Linked DNA regions of Homo sapiens: region 2 is linked to region 1. The links are contacts of gene promoters, found by promoter capture Hi-C in human tissues and cell types (Jung and others, 2019). All regions are on one chromosome and are shown on one strand. The core of a region is centred on a gene start or on the middle of the fragment in contact, and the rest is flanking DNA. Distances in the headings are between cores, read along the strand shown. Region 1 holds the start of PLK4 (polo like kinase 4). Region 2 overlaps LARP1B (La ribonucleoprotein 1B).

Region 1 (7,045 bases), core at 1,077-3,576:
GCAGCCTTTGCCACCCAGGCTCAAGTGATCTTTCCACCTCAGCTTCCTGAGTGGCTGGGACCACAGGTGCAAGTCACCTCCCCTGGCTAATTTTTGTATTTTTTGTAGAGACTGTGTTTCCACTATTTTGCCCAGGCTGATCTGGAACTCCTGGGCTCAAGCGATCTGCTTGCCTCAACTTCCCAAAGTGCTGGGATCACAGACTTGAGCCACCACACCAGGCGGGGCTCATCTTTTTGGCAAAATTGTTTCTAATACATATGGAAAGAGAACAATTATCATTTTGTAACTATCATAGTAAAGACTAGTTTAGGAAAAATCAATAATACTGCTAAATTGTGAGAGAGGGGTTTGCTGAGGAGCAGAATATTTGCAGGAAATTCAAGTGTCTCCCCCATAGATTGCTTATTAGTTGCAAGTAGAAAACCAGCAATTTATACAGTGGAGAAACTGGGATCAAATTAACATCACTAATGAGAGACAAACAATATCACGTGCCTCCAAATGTGGTCTCTTGGAAAGAATATAACCTCATGTATGTAATATTACAATCAGGAATACATAACCTGAATCTAATCATGAGGAAACACGAGACAAACCCAAAGTAGGGAAGATTCTGTAAAATAACTGGCCCTTAACACACACACACACACACACACACACTCCTAAGAGTGGTGACAATGTGTTAATTTGATTGTTGTAATCATTTCACAATGTATATGAAATCATCATGCTGTACAACTTGAATAAATACAATTTTTGTCAACTATACCTCAGTAATACTGGAATGAACAAATGAACGAATGATAAATAATTGGCCTGCACTCTTCAAAAATCTCAATGTCACAAAAATACAAATGCTGAGGAACTCTTCCATATTAAAGGAAATTAAAAAGATATGGTAACTAAATACGGTATGTGATCCTGTACTAGATCTATACTGGAAGGAAAAAATGTTAAATAAAGACATTACTGGAACAATTGACAAATCGGAATATGAACTGTAGATTAGATTAAATATAAATATTGTATCAATGCTAAATATCCTTAATTTGATAAACATACAAGAGGATACCCTGGTTCTTAAGAAATTCACACTTTAGAAATAAGGGGTATAAGAGCATAGTGTATGTAACCTATTTTAGAATGATTCATAAAATACAAATAATAGGCTTATTTATATATTTATACATGTATATTACACATGAAGAATAGTAAAAACAAGTGTGGCAAAATGTTAAGAATTGGTTAATCTGAGTAAAGGACAACAGGAGTTCTCTATTATTTTTACAACTTTTCTGTAAGCTTAAAATTATTTGAAACTAAAAAGTTTAAAAAAAAAAATGGGCCGGGCATGGAGGCTCACGCCTGTATTCCTAGCACTTTGGGAAGCCGACGCAGGCGGATCACCTGAGGTCAGGAGTTCGAGACCAGCCTGGCCAACATGGTGAAACCCCGTCTCTACTAAAAATACAAAAATTAGCCAGTCGTGGTGGCGCGTACCTGTAAATCCCAGCTACCCGGGAGACTGAGGAAGGAGAATCGCTGGAACCCAGGAGATGGAGGCTGCAGTGAGCCGAGATCGAGTCACTGCACTCCAGCCTGGGCGACAGAGCGAGACTCCATCTCAAAAGAAAAAAGAAAAAGAAAAAGAAATACACACTAACATCAAGGAAAAGAGCTTTCACTTAATAACAGAAGATCTAAGTTTGTGCGCTACTTCTGTTTGTTAAATATCCTTCCTTAAGCATCACACTTTTCTCACCTGCAAAACACCATCCCAAACTTACAGAGGTCTCTTTTGATCCATACAAATTATGTGTATGAGAGATCTAACTGTAAATTATTATACAAATGACATTATAATATTAAATACTTAGGAGTTTGCCAAAATAAAGAATGGAGTTCGTTTTCTTAAGGTACCGTACACATTAACTACAGTTATAACAAACTACGGAATAAGCGGTAGTGGTGTAAACGGTGTTCCTTAAAGGAAGGTAATGTTTTTTGCCCTGTTCCGTCAAGTCTTAAACGCTTGACATTTTAAAATAGTTTTAAACCCTTTCCGGAATTAGAAGTGGTATTTCGGACCGTGAAGTAACCGATCAGCCATAAGTGTCCCATCTTTAAGGCCTGCTCTTTTACCCGTCTTGCAGAAGTTCTTCCGAGAGTGGGCCCGAGACAGCCTCCCGCCCGAACTAAACTCTCCGCAGCGCTTCCGGCCCTTGGCCCCGAAGTCTAGAACCCTGGGCCGGCCGCAAAGGAAGGTCTGCCGCGCATGCGCGCCCCGGCGCAGCCTATCCGGAGCGATCCATCTCGTTACGTCACCACCAGCCTAGCTCGGACGGCAAGCGGCGGGAGATTTTCAAAATGGGAGCCCAGAGGCACCGCCCAGGCCTCGGAAGGTGTCAGGGAGAACTTTCCGTGGTTTCAGCGTCGTCGCCTGGAGCGGCGGTTTAGAGAGCCGAGCCTGATGGGCGCCAAGGCCGGCTGGCTGCTTGGAGCGCTGCCTCGAAGGGACTGCGTGAAGGAAGCTAATCCGGAGAACCCAGGCCAGAGCCTGGAAATATGGCGACCTGCATCGGGGAGAAGATCGAGGTGAAAAGACTCGGCAGTCTGCAGCGGGGCGGGTGGGAGTAATTGTGGGAGGACACGAGACCGCTGTGGGAAGGGGAGCGAACGAAGCTAACGGCTGCGGGGCGGGCACCGAGGTGCTTAGGGAGGGTCCCAACGGCCCAGACCCCTGCTGTTTAGGGGCGGAGCGGCCCGCCCCTCAAGAGACAAGAGTAGGGAAGGCGGGACAGGTGAGTCCCTCCCCGCCCGGCAGTGTCCCGAGGCACTGCGGCTTTCTTTCAGCAATCCCGCCCGAGCTACCGCGTTAGAGCAGGGCAGGGCTACCTCCCACTTCTCCAAGGGGATGGCGGTTATCTCCGGCGGGAGCTGCGGCGGGATTCTGACCGAGCCCTCCGCTCCCGGGGATTGGCTGGAGATGGGAGGAGGGCGCTTAGGCTGCACTGAGGTTGAGGAACCAGATCACTAGGGTGCACCATCACCCTGAGCTTCCAGTCCAGCCTGGAAGCGCAGGTATCCCCGCACGGAGTCAACATGCCTTCCACCCTAGACACCTGCTGCATCGAGGTGTAATACCCGCTTGAATTTTGTCAAATTCCCCACTCGATCCATTTTATCTTCTTTTTCCAGCCCCTTCCCATCTTCCTTTCTACTGTGAGTCATCACACATAATCTTTAATTTTAACTTTTAAGGATTTTAAAGTTGGAAATCTGCTTGGTAAAGGATCATTTGCTGGTGTCTACAGAGCTGAGTCCATTCACACTGGTTTGGAAGTTGCAATCAAAATGGTAAGAATAAACTAATCAACTTCTCTCCTGTACTTTGCAAGTAACTAGAGAGGTATCAGAGATGTCAGAAACTCCTTGTCTACTAGCCTTTCCTTTGATTATAGTGTAAGGAACACTTTACATAGGCAGAAGACAATAGTGCCAAGTCCAGCCGTTGAACTTAAAAATATTTTAGGAAAGCCTTGACCTTGCTTAAGTAAGTTTTATCTTCATTAATGTTCAGTAGACCTCGTATGTGGTGTAATTATCCATACTTGGAGTAATGAGTAGAAATCAACTAACAAATAATTTGTTTATAGTTCACTGTGTATAATTTTGTATTTCCCTGTAACATACAAAATATTATTCTTGATTGTTAGAAGTCAGCCTAATAGGAGTAACATAAACATAAGCAAATTAAGAATTATTTGTCAGCCGGGTGGGTGGCTCACACCTGTAATCTCAACGCTTTGGGAGGCTGAGGCAGGTGGATCACCTGAGCTCAGGAGTTTGAAAACAACTGTGCAACATGGTGAAACCTCCTCTCTACCAAAAATACAAAAATTAGCTGCTGCTGGGCACGGTGGCTCACGCCTGTAATCCCAGCACTTTGGGAGGCCGAGGCGGGTGGATCACCTGAGGTCGGTAGTTCAAGACCAGCCTGACCAACATGGAGAAACCCCATCTCTACTAAAAATACCAAATTAGCCGGGTGTGGTGCTGCACACCTGTAATCCCAGCTACTCTGAAGGCTGAGCAGGAGAATCGCTTGAACCCGGGAGGCAGAGGTTGTGGTGAGCTGAGATCGCGCCATTGCACTCCAGCCCAGGCAACAAGAGCTAAATTCCCATCTCAAAAAAAAAAATTAGCCAAGCGTGGTGGCATGTGCCTGTGGTCCCAGCTACTCAGGAGGCTGAGGTGGGAGGATAGATTGTGCCTGGGAGGTTGAGGCTGCAGTGAACTGTGATCATGCCACTGCACTCCAGCCTAGGTGACAGTGAGACCCTGCCTTTAAAAAAAAAAAATCATTTATCTAAACCACTTAGAAAAAGAACTGGAGGTTTTGCTCTAAAATTTGCCTGAATTGGGATTTTTTTTTCTTAATAGTTAGGCTAGTTGTGCTATTAGATTATTTAAATTGAGATAGGATATTAGAATTAATTGGTCAAACTTTTACCAAGCACCCTCTCTGCCGAGCACTCTGCTAGGTGCATGGGGAAAACAGATAACAGTAGGTTGACCACAAAGACGTATAAAAGGACTTCAGTCTATTTTAAAGTATACTTTATTTTCAAAGTTCACTTTTAAGCAGTTTATATTTGAAAGTCTGTCAACATTTAAACCTGTTATTTTTAGATAGATAAGAAAGCCATGTACAAAGCAGGAATGGTACAGAGAGTCCAAAATGAGGTGAAAATACATTGCCAATTGAAACATCCTTCTATCTTGGAGGTAAGATATAAATTTTGTAGAAGTGACCAAGGACACTGAATTTTTGTATATTTTAATTTATTATGCCCTTTCACATTTCAGCTTTATAACTATTTTGAAGATAGCAATTATGTGTATCTGGTATTAGAAATGTGCCATAATGGAGAAATGAACAGGTATCTAAAGAATAGAGTGAAACCCTTCTCAGAAAATGAAGGTAGGTGTGTGGTTTTTTTTGTTTGTTTTGTTTGGGTGGATAAAAGTTTTGCATTTTAAAGTGTAGTTTTGAGGAATATGCTATTTTATAATATATAGTAAAACTGTTTGAATTATTACTTTAAGCTAGAAAAGGAGATTTCCTACATCCCAAGCTGCTAATTCTTAAAACAATTCAATTATTACGGTAGTAAAGTAAGAAATTTGTTATCCTTCTGTCCTTAAAACCACATTTTAAATTAAATTATTGGTAGCAGTTTACTGTGTATCTTTTCAAATGTAGTAACCTTTTTAGGATGTCATTGGTGACTATAAAGTAGTTCTAAATCAAGCATAAATAGCCATTGAAACTGTTTATTATAGAAAACATGAAACATACAGGTAGTGTGCTATAATGAGTCCCCTGAACTTAACACTCAGCTTCCAAAACTAGTGACTCATGGTCATATTATTTCATCTTTACTGTTTTTACTACCTTGATTTTCCAAAGTATTTTGAAGCAAATTATAGACATATTTTTAACTAGAAATATTTCAAAGTATAGACTTCTTTAAAAACGTAGCCACAAAGTCATTATCACACCTAATAATTATTTACTATCAAATATATAGCTTCAGACTTCCTCAATTTCTCATAATTTTTTGCAGTTCAAAGCAGAACCAAATAAGGTCTATACATTGACACAAATGATTGTTTTCAAGTTATCTTGCTCTGCTAACTGAGATTACAGACAAGCTAACAGAAGTAGTTGCTGATAGGCTTCTTGTACATCTGAATCTATATAAGCCATTTGGAAAACAATTCGGACATATGTATTTAGAGTTACGGAAATATTTATATTCTTTGACTCAGATTCCATTGTTGGAAGTTTATTCCAAAGAAATAATACAAATTGAAAAAAAATTGATACTCATCTTGATAATGACTACTGCAGTTTTTTATAATACTTCATTAAAAAAGGCCTTATTAGGCTGGGCTCAGTGGCTCACGCCTGTAATCCCAGCACCTTGGGGGGCTGAGGCACGTAGATCACCTGAGGTCAGGAGTTCGAGACCAGCCTGGCCAATATGGTAAAACCCCATCTCTACTAAAAATGCAAAAATTAGCCGGGCACGGTGGCTCATGCCTGTCATCCTAGCTACTTGGGAGGCTGAGGTGGATGGATCACAAGGTCAGGAGATCAAGACCATCCTGGCTGACATGGTGAAACCCCGTCTCTACTAAAAATACAAAAAAAATTAGCTCGGTGTGGTGGTGCTCTCCTGTAATCCCAGCTACTCAGGAAGCTGAGGCAGGAGAATTGCTTGAACCCGGGAGGCAGAGATTGCAGTGAACTGAGATTGTGCCACTGCACTCCAGCCTGGTGACAGATCAAGACTCCATCTAAAAAAAAAAGCTTACAAATTGATTACTTGGGAAAGTTTGGGAGACATCGTTGGAACTTTAGCTTTTTCTTTTTTTTAACAATTAGAAAATATGTATGAATCGTTTGTGCAATTGTTTTTCTTAATTGCTATGGTTACCCTAATGACTCTCAGTTGCTAAAAAAAAAGTAGGCTTCTCTTAACTGCATGTAAAACGCTCATCAGTTGGAAATAACGAAGATTAAAAGGAATGCCTAGTTTTCTTAAAGGTTAATATGATAGGCCAGGCGCGGTGGCTCAAGCCTGAAATCCCAGCCCTTTAGGAGGCCGAGGTGGGTGGATCACGAGGTCAGGAGATTGAGACCATCCTGGCTAACACAGTGAAACCCTGTCTCTACTAAAAACACAAAAAATTAGCCAGGCACGGTGGCGGGCGCCTGTAGTCCCAGCTACTCGGGAGGCTGAGGCAGGAGAATGGCATGAACCCGGGAGGCGGAGCTTGCTGTGAGCCGAGATCGCGCCACTGCACTCCAGCCTGAGGGACACAGCAAGACTCCGTCTCAAAAAAAAAAAAAAAAAAAAAGGTTAATATGATCTCTTTAGAGGGGTGTGTTGGTACCACTCTGATAATTGCTGGTAATTGAAGTGGCTGGTAAATCTAAGCTCCAAGCCACTGTTCTACTACAGTGCTCTAG
Region 2 (7,030 bases), core at 2,804-5,303, 270 kb after region 1:
TTGAGATATTACCCAGACTTTTTGTGAAATCCTAGGCTCAAGTGATCTTCCCACATCAGCCTCCTGAGTAGCTGGGATTTCAGGTGTGAGCCGCCATGCCTGGTTCTTTCTGTTTTCTGGAATATTTATGTTCTATAGATTGGACTGTATTTATCATTCTGTCTTAAACTTCACTAATTTTTGTCTACCATTTTCATTCTATTTTTAGGCCCGTCCAAGTAAAAGTTTTTCAGTTCTGGAATTTCCATTTTTTATAGTTTGCATTTTTTGGGCTGCGATTTCCTATCTATTCACTTATTAAGACCATGTTTTTCTTCTGTTTCTTCATATATATTTATAATAGTTGCTTTGAAGTCCTTGTCTTAAAATCTGACATTTGACATTTGAGAGATCTTGTGATAACATTTGAGCGATCTACTGACTGCTTTTTTACCTTGACTATGGGTTACATTTTCCTATTTATTTTCACTGCTAGTAATTTTTAAAGTTTTATACTGTTCATTATACATATGCTGTAGAGATTATAGATGTCATCTTCCTCTGAAGGATGTTGAGTTTTTTGTTTTATTGGGCGTTGTAGGCTACACTTGGAATTGTGTAGACTTATTTTACTCTTTCGTTAGGTTAGATCTGTGGAAAGCCTCTTTAACTTGACAGAACTTAACCTCCAAATTCTGTGTCTCCTCTAGATCTTATGAGGTTTTATATTAGGCTTTGCTAGTGAGTCTAGAGTAGGTCTTATTCTCTAGACTCGAGTGTGGACCTTATTCTGTAGCATGGCTTCATTTCTAAGCTGTATCACACATGAATGCCCAAAGGGTTAATGAGTAGCTTACAAAGGGTATCCATTCTTAACTGGGCTTGTATGCTCACCATCCCCCAGCACTACTGGACCTTTAGTATATCTGTTCAGCTTAACCACATAGCAGTCACTTTGGGGTATGTCTTAGGTAGTCTTATCCTGAACATATGTGCTCTGCCTCCAGCCAAGGACACACAGCAGCCTGACCCTCACATGGACTTATTGCCCCCCTCTTCCCTGCATAGATTGTCTCCAGCGCTCTATTCCACAGGTTCCACTGCTTCAACTGTACTAAACTCTAAAGCACTACCTTCTCAGCTCAGCAGGACAGTTATACTTTGCTTGGGCTGAAGCTTACTGTGCCATGGTTAGGAAATTGTACCCAGAAATAGAGCTGGAGTGATCGTGGAGCCCATCTTGTGAGCTCTTCTCTCAGAGATCACAGTCTTACATTGCTTTTGTTCAATCCCTAAAAATAGTTGTTTCATAGTCATATCAGTTTTATGGTTATTTACATTAGGAGGCACAGGCTGGTATTGGTTGCTCCGTCATAGCCAGAAGCAGAAGACCATACCCATTACATCATAAAATTAAAAAGTCTGACAATATTAAGTCTTGGTAAAGAAGTGGTGCAACATGAATTCACACATCACTATTGGTGTTAAATTAAATTGTTACAACCAACTTTAGTATTACTTATTAAAGTTGATTGTTTATGTATCCTAAGAAGCATCAGTTCCATTTCCACATGTACATATGTATACATGCATTTTTCTAATACACATCAGTTCCATTTCTAGTTATGTCTATATGTGTACGTGTGTGTATCTTTTGTAGAGAAACTTTTGAATGTGTGGACTATGAGACACATCCATATTGTTAAATCTAATAGCTTCATTATGTCTAAAATGGTATTATATATGTTTTGTATACAGTGGTATGGTATTTAACAGTGAAATAATTGGTATAGAAATGAAGATGATTTTAAAAACAATGCCAATATAGATCAAATAAGAGAATGGTAAAATGGTGATAGTTGTTGAAACCATGTGATGTGTATATAGGACTTTGTTATACTATTCTATTTTTGTATATGTTAGAAAAATTCCAAAGTAAAGAAGTTTTAAAAGTTTGGTGGATGTTAGCCATATAATATATGCAGAAAATATGATTTTATTAATATACAGTTCCAAAACAGGGGAAATGAAATATATTGCATAGGGAAACTTTCAAAGGTAATAAATGAAAGAACAGTTAGGAAATCGGTCTTGCTAAGGTCAATATGGTGGTTTTTCTGGAGAGAAGGAGGGGAATGGGATTGGGCAGGGGCAAAAAGGGACTTCCAGGATATTGGCAGTGTCCTATTAACATAGATGGTAGTAGCATGTGGTGTTCATTGTATTAATTTTCATACCATACACATAGGTTTTATACAAGATATTTCAAAGCAGAACAGTTATTTAAAAATAGCTGGATGAAAGAATTTTGAGAGTTTTAGGTTGGCATAATCAAGGGAAGCATCCTAGAGAAGCCTAGAACTTAAAACTAGGTCCTAAATAACGAATATTCTATATTATAAAACATCTGATCTAGGACCCACTGTTATGCTTAGTATTCCTGACCAAAAATAAAGGACACAGAAGATAACTTCCATTGCAACACATTCTCCTTGATGACAGTGTCTATCCCATTGGTTCACTCATTCATTCATCTATCCATTTATTCATTTAACAGATATTTGAGTAGCTGTTAGGTGCTAAGCATAGTGATAGGCAATTTGTGAACAGTGTTGAGGAGTGATGGAGTTTCCAGTCCCCAGATTCTTTATGATTCTCAGCTTTGTTAGCTGGGACGAGAGACCTCTTTTGTATATTTGCTTTGAGGTGTGAACTAGTTAGCCCCAAACAACTGGCTGGCTTCTTTCTTGCCCTTTTTCTAAGATCGCCTGGTTTCTTTGCTCAGATTTCTGTGACAGAGTCTTTCCCTTTTTCTCACTGCTAAGACAGCGATTGAAAAATTTGCTCTTTTATACATTCTTTCAAAAAGTTCTCCCCTTGATGCATGCAAGAGTTTTGCCTTGATTATTAGGCAATATTTGGATATATGTACAAAATCAAAACAGAGAATAAGTAGTCTAGCTAGAGAAGGTAGCTGGTGGGTTTGATTTATGAAGGGGAACAGTAAAAAAGAGAAGTTGAGGACAGAAAGTAGTATGGGGTGCTCTAAGTGGGTAGATTGCCTCTTAAATAATGAAATCTGGATGTGGTTATTGCTAGAACAGTGGCTGAAGAAAATCTTGTGTTTCAAAGAAAGTGGATTGAAGAGTACTTTTTGTGACCCAGAATTCAAAATTAAAAACTTATAAAGTCAATAAATGGAAAACAAATGAGTTTCTGAAGTGTCTTCATCAAATAATAGAATTATGGCCAGTAGTAAAAAAAAGAAAAAAGAGTTATGGCCAGTAATTACAATATAATTTATAAAGTTTCTAGTCACTCCTTCACTGATAGAATACAGTAATATGTAAGCACGAATGTGTTTATTAATAGCCTGTTGATATAATTTATGAAAAAAATACAGAGTTTACAACTTTTTTTTGAAATTGGCTCCTGAGTAATAAAAAGTTTCTTGACATTGATTATCTAATGAGAGCTAAGTATGTGAATTATCTAACAGAGTTCAATATTATTTGGGAATAGGTTTTAGAGCCCTTTTAAGTTGAAAATTGAGAATGATCAAAACATTCCTAATTCTCTTAAATCACCAGTAAAATACGTATCACTTTATGCATAGCCTTACACCTTAATATGCATCTAAAGCTGGGCGCGGTGGCACATGCCTGTAATCCTAGCACTTTGGGAGGCTGAGGCAGGTAGATCACCTAAGGGCAGGAGTTTGAGACCAGCCTGGCCAACATGGTGAAGTCCCTCTCTACTAAAAATATAAAAAACTAGCTGGGCGTGGTGGTGGGCGCCTATAACCCCAGCTACTTGGGAGGTTGAGGCCGGAGAATCTCTTGAACCTGGGAGGTGGAGGTTGAAGTGAGCCGAGATTGCACCATTGCACTCCAGTCCAGCCTGGGCAACAAGAGTGAAACTCTGTCTCAAAAAAAAAAAAGCTTCTAAATATATATGTAGTAATGTAGCAGGATCATATTTATAAAATAAAGTATTGAAGTGCTTGAATTTTGAAGTACTTGAGCATATTTATAAAGATTCTAATTTGATGGGTCTTCCTGTCCATAGTCATCTTTCTCTTTAGAAGCTGATTTTTTTTTAAATTTTATTATTTTACTTTATTTTATTTATTTATTTTTGAGATGGAGTCTCATTCTGTTGCCCAGGCTGGAGCACAGTGGCGGGGTCTTGGCTCATTGCAACCTCCACCCTCGGGGTTCAAGCAATTCTGCTGCAGCCTCCTGAGTAGCTGGGATTATAGGTGCTCACCACAATGCCTGGCTAAGTTTTGAATTTTTAGTAGAGATGGGGTTTCACCATGTTGGCCTGGCTGGTCTCGAAGTCCTGACCTCAAGTAATCCACCTGCCTTGGCCTCCCAAAGTGGTGGAGTTACAGGCATGAGCCACTGCACCTGGCCAGAGGCTAATACTTAAAATAATTCTTTCTACTTTTAGTTGTTATTTCCCTATGCTTTTCAACATTTTTGAACATGAAAGGATATGGTAAAACTATACTTGTTTGGGCACTTTTCAGTGGTCAGGACATTATCGAAATGTATTCATCCTTTCGTTAGGTTTTTCTTTCTGTGCATTAACATTAGGATTTGATTACATCAATGCATACATTCATTGAGTAGAATAGCAGTGGCATTGCTGGCCCATTTAAAAAGTATTATTATTGCTAAACAAGTATAATTGAATTTCTGTAAGTTAAATGTTAGCACTACAGTACTCTGAAGATTGGGTAGGTGAGGTGGGACCAGATTGCAAAGTGTCTTGAAAGCTTTATAGGAATTTAGAATAAAGAGCAATTGCAGTTTTTATAAAGAAAGTGGAATGATCAAAATAGTGGTTTAATAGGTTTATATATGTGAGGCATTAACCTAGATCAGAATAGGGGAGGACAGAAGTTGAGTTAAAAAACCCACTTATAGTAATCCAAGGGTGAAATGAAGAGCTGAACAAAAGGAATATCGTTTATTTTCTCAACATTCATTAATAACCTACGTGAGAATGAAAAAGTGCCAAAATTGGGAAGCGATTTTAAAGAATCTGTTCATAATACCTTGTGAAAGAAGTAGGGACATTAGCAAGGAAAACCTAGGAGAGAATGATCTTAAGATCAGATTTGGAAATGTTGAGTTGATTCATGGTGTCTATTTATGTAAAATGTCTTTTGCCCTCTCTCTAAATCCTAGAGATGATAAGAAGGCCAGAAATGTAGATTTTGGAGTATTTAGTAAAGAAGGGAGACTTAAAGCAGGAAAAGTGATTGAACTTTTTAAGGTATTAAAGAAAAGGAGAGGGAACAATTGAGACAGGAAGTCCACTAGTGGTAATTTGGAGGAAAAAAATAGGTGTGGGCTGGGCGCAGTGGCTCACGCCTGTAATCCCAGCATTTTGGGAGGCAGAGGCAGGCGGATTACAAAGTCAGGAGTTCGAGACCATCCTGGCCTACATGGTGAAACCCTGTCTCTACTAAAAATACAAAAATTAGCCAGGCATGGTGGTGCACACCTGTACTCCCAGCTGTTCAGGAGGCTGAGGCAGGAGAATCACTTGAACCCGGGAGGCGGAGGTTGCAGTGAGCCGAGATCGTGCCACTGCACTCCAGCCTGGGCGACAGACCAAGACTCCATCTCAAAACAAAACAAAACAACAACAACAAAAAAGGTGTGGTTATTATATATAGTTTCACTGAAGAAGCCAAGAAAATAAATGGTGTCTGAGATTATGACCCATAAAGGGACACATTCTATCTCAACTATAGCTTTAATTTTTTTCTTTTTTTTTTTTTTTTCAGACAGGGTCTCACCCTGTTGTGCCTAGGCTGGAATGCAGTGGTGAGATCATAGCGTACTGCAGCCTCAAACTCCTGGGCTCAAGGGAGTCTTCTGTCTCAGCCTCCCTAGTAGTTGGTACTACAGGCATGTGTTACCACACCTGACTAATTTTTTACTTTTTTGTGGAGACAGTGTCTCACTGTGTTGCTCATGCTGGTCTTGAATTCCTGGCCTCAAGTAATCCTTCCACATCAGCCTCCTGAAGAGCTGGAATTATAGATGTGAGCCACTGCACCCAACCAGCTTCATCTTTTTTCCCCCACTGACTTCTTATTTTAAGGCAGAGAAAATTGCTTGAACCCGAGAAGCAGAAGTTGCAGTGAGCCAAGATTGCGCCACTGCACTCCAGCCTGGGCAAGACAGCAAGACTCTGTCTTGGGAAAAAAAAATAAATGAAGAAATGTAAAATAAAAAAATAAAAATCCCTTACTGCTGACCACCTTGGACCTACCATCAGACTGTAATTCACATTGACATGAATGGGAAGTGAGAAAGTTGAAGCACCAAGGGTTCTTTCAAGCAATTTGGCTGAAGGGAAATCCTTGTTGCTTAAGCTTCTTCTTTCTAGTCAGACCAATATGAGTTGCAGAGAAATGTAGACTTTGAAAGACAATGCCATTTTCTCACTTAATGTTATGAATATTTTTCTGTATCAGTAATATGCATCTATATTTTATTCCCTCCAAGTCTTCATTTTGAAATACTTCAAACCTTCAGAAAAGTTACATACATAATATGAGGAATGCCAGTATATTGTTCACCTAGATTTGGCAAACATCTTACCATATTTCCTTTTTTTCTATGTATAAATATATAGGTGCATATATATACATTTTTTCCTGAATCATTTGAAAGTTAGTTGTAGACATTATGTCAGCTTATCCTAAAATACATCAGCAAGTATCTCCTAAAAACAAGTACACTCTCCTACATAACCACAATTATCAAAAACACAAGAAGTTTAACATTGATAGAATGCTATTATTGAATATGCAGTTTATATTTACATTTCTCCAGTTGTCTCAGTTGTCCTTTATAATTTCTTTTATTTTTTTCTAAGTCAATTCCAGACAGGAATCACACATTGCCTTGAGAGTCATATAATTTTAATGTTCTTTCATTTAGAATAGTTGTGCTGCCTTTTTTTTTCTTTTTGGCTATTCATGACATTGATGTTTTTCAAGAGTTCAGGCCAGTTGTTTTGTCCT

The links. The method cuts DNA at HindIII sites, captures the fragments that hold promoters and counts their contacts. A contact is called where the count stands out against the background at its distance.
Region 2: a contact is called between a fragment that was not itself captured here and the fragment with the promoter of PLK4 in region 1, in 1 of the 25 tissues and cell types used here (heart left ventricle).

What each region holds. Positions count from the first base shown.
Region 1 is chr4:127,878,567-127,885,611 of GRCh38, forward strand. PLK4 (polo like kinase 4) reads left to right here and starts at 2,327. Exons shown (of 16, transcript NM_014264.5): 1 at 2,327-2,598; 2 at 3,265-3,360; 3 at 4,696-4,791; 4 at 4,873-4,987. The coding sequence starts at 2,569. RefSeq lists enhancers at 2,411-2,650, 6,336-6,505. The HindIII fragment of the contact is 10,406 bases long and covers 352-7,045 here.
Region 2 is chr4:128,144,530-128,151,559 of GRCh38, forward strand. The region is part of intron 11 of LARP1B (La ribonucleoprotein 1B); the gene reads left to right. Among named protein-coding and RNA genes, the nearest start is that of LARP1B, 87 kb to the left of the region's middle. The HindIII fragment of the contact is 3,032 bases long and covers 2,538-5,569 here.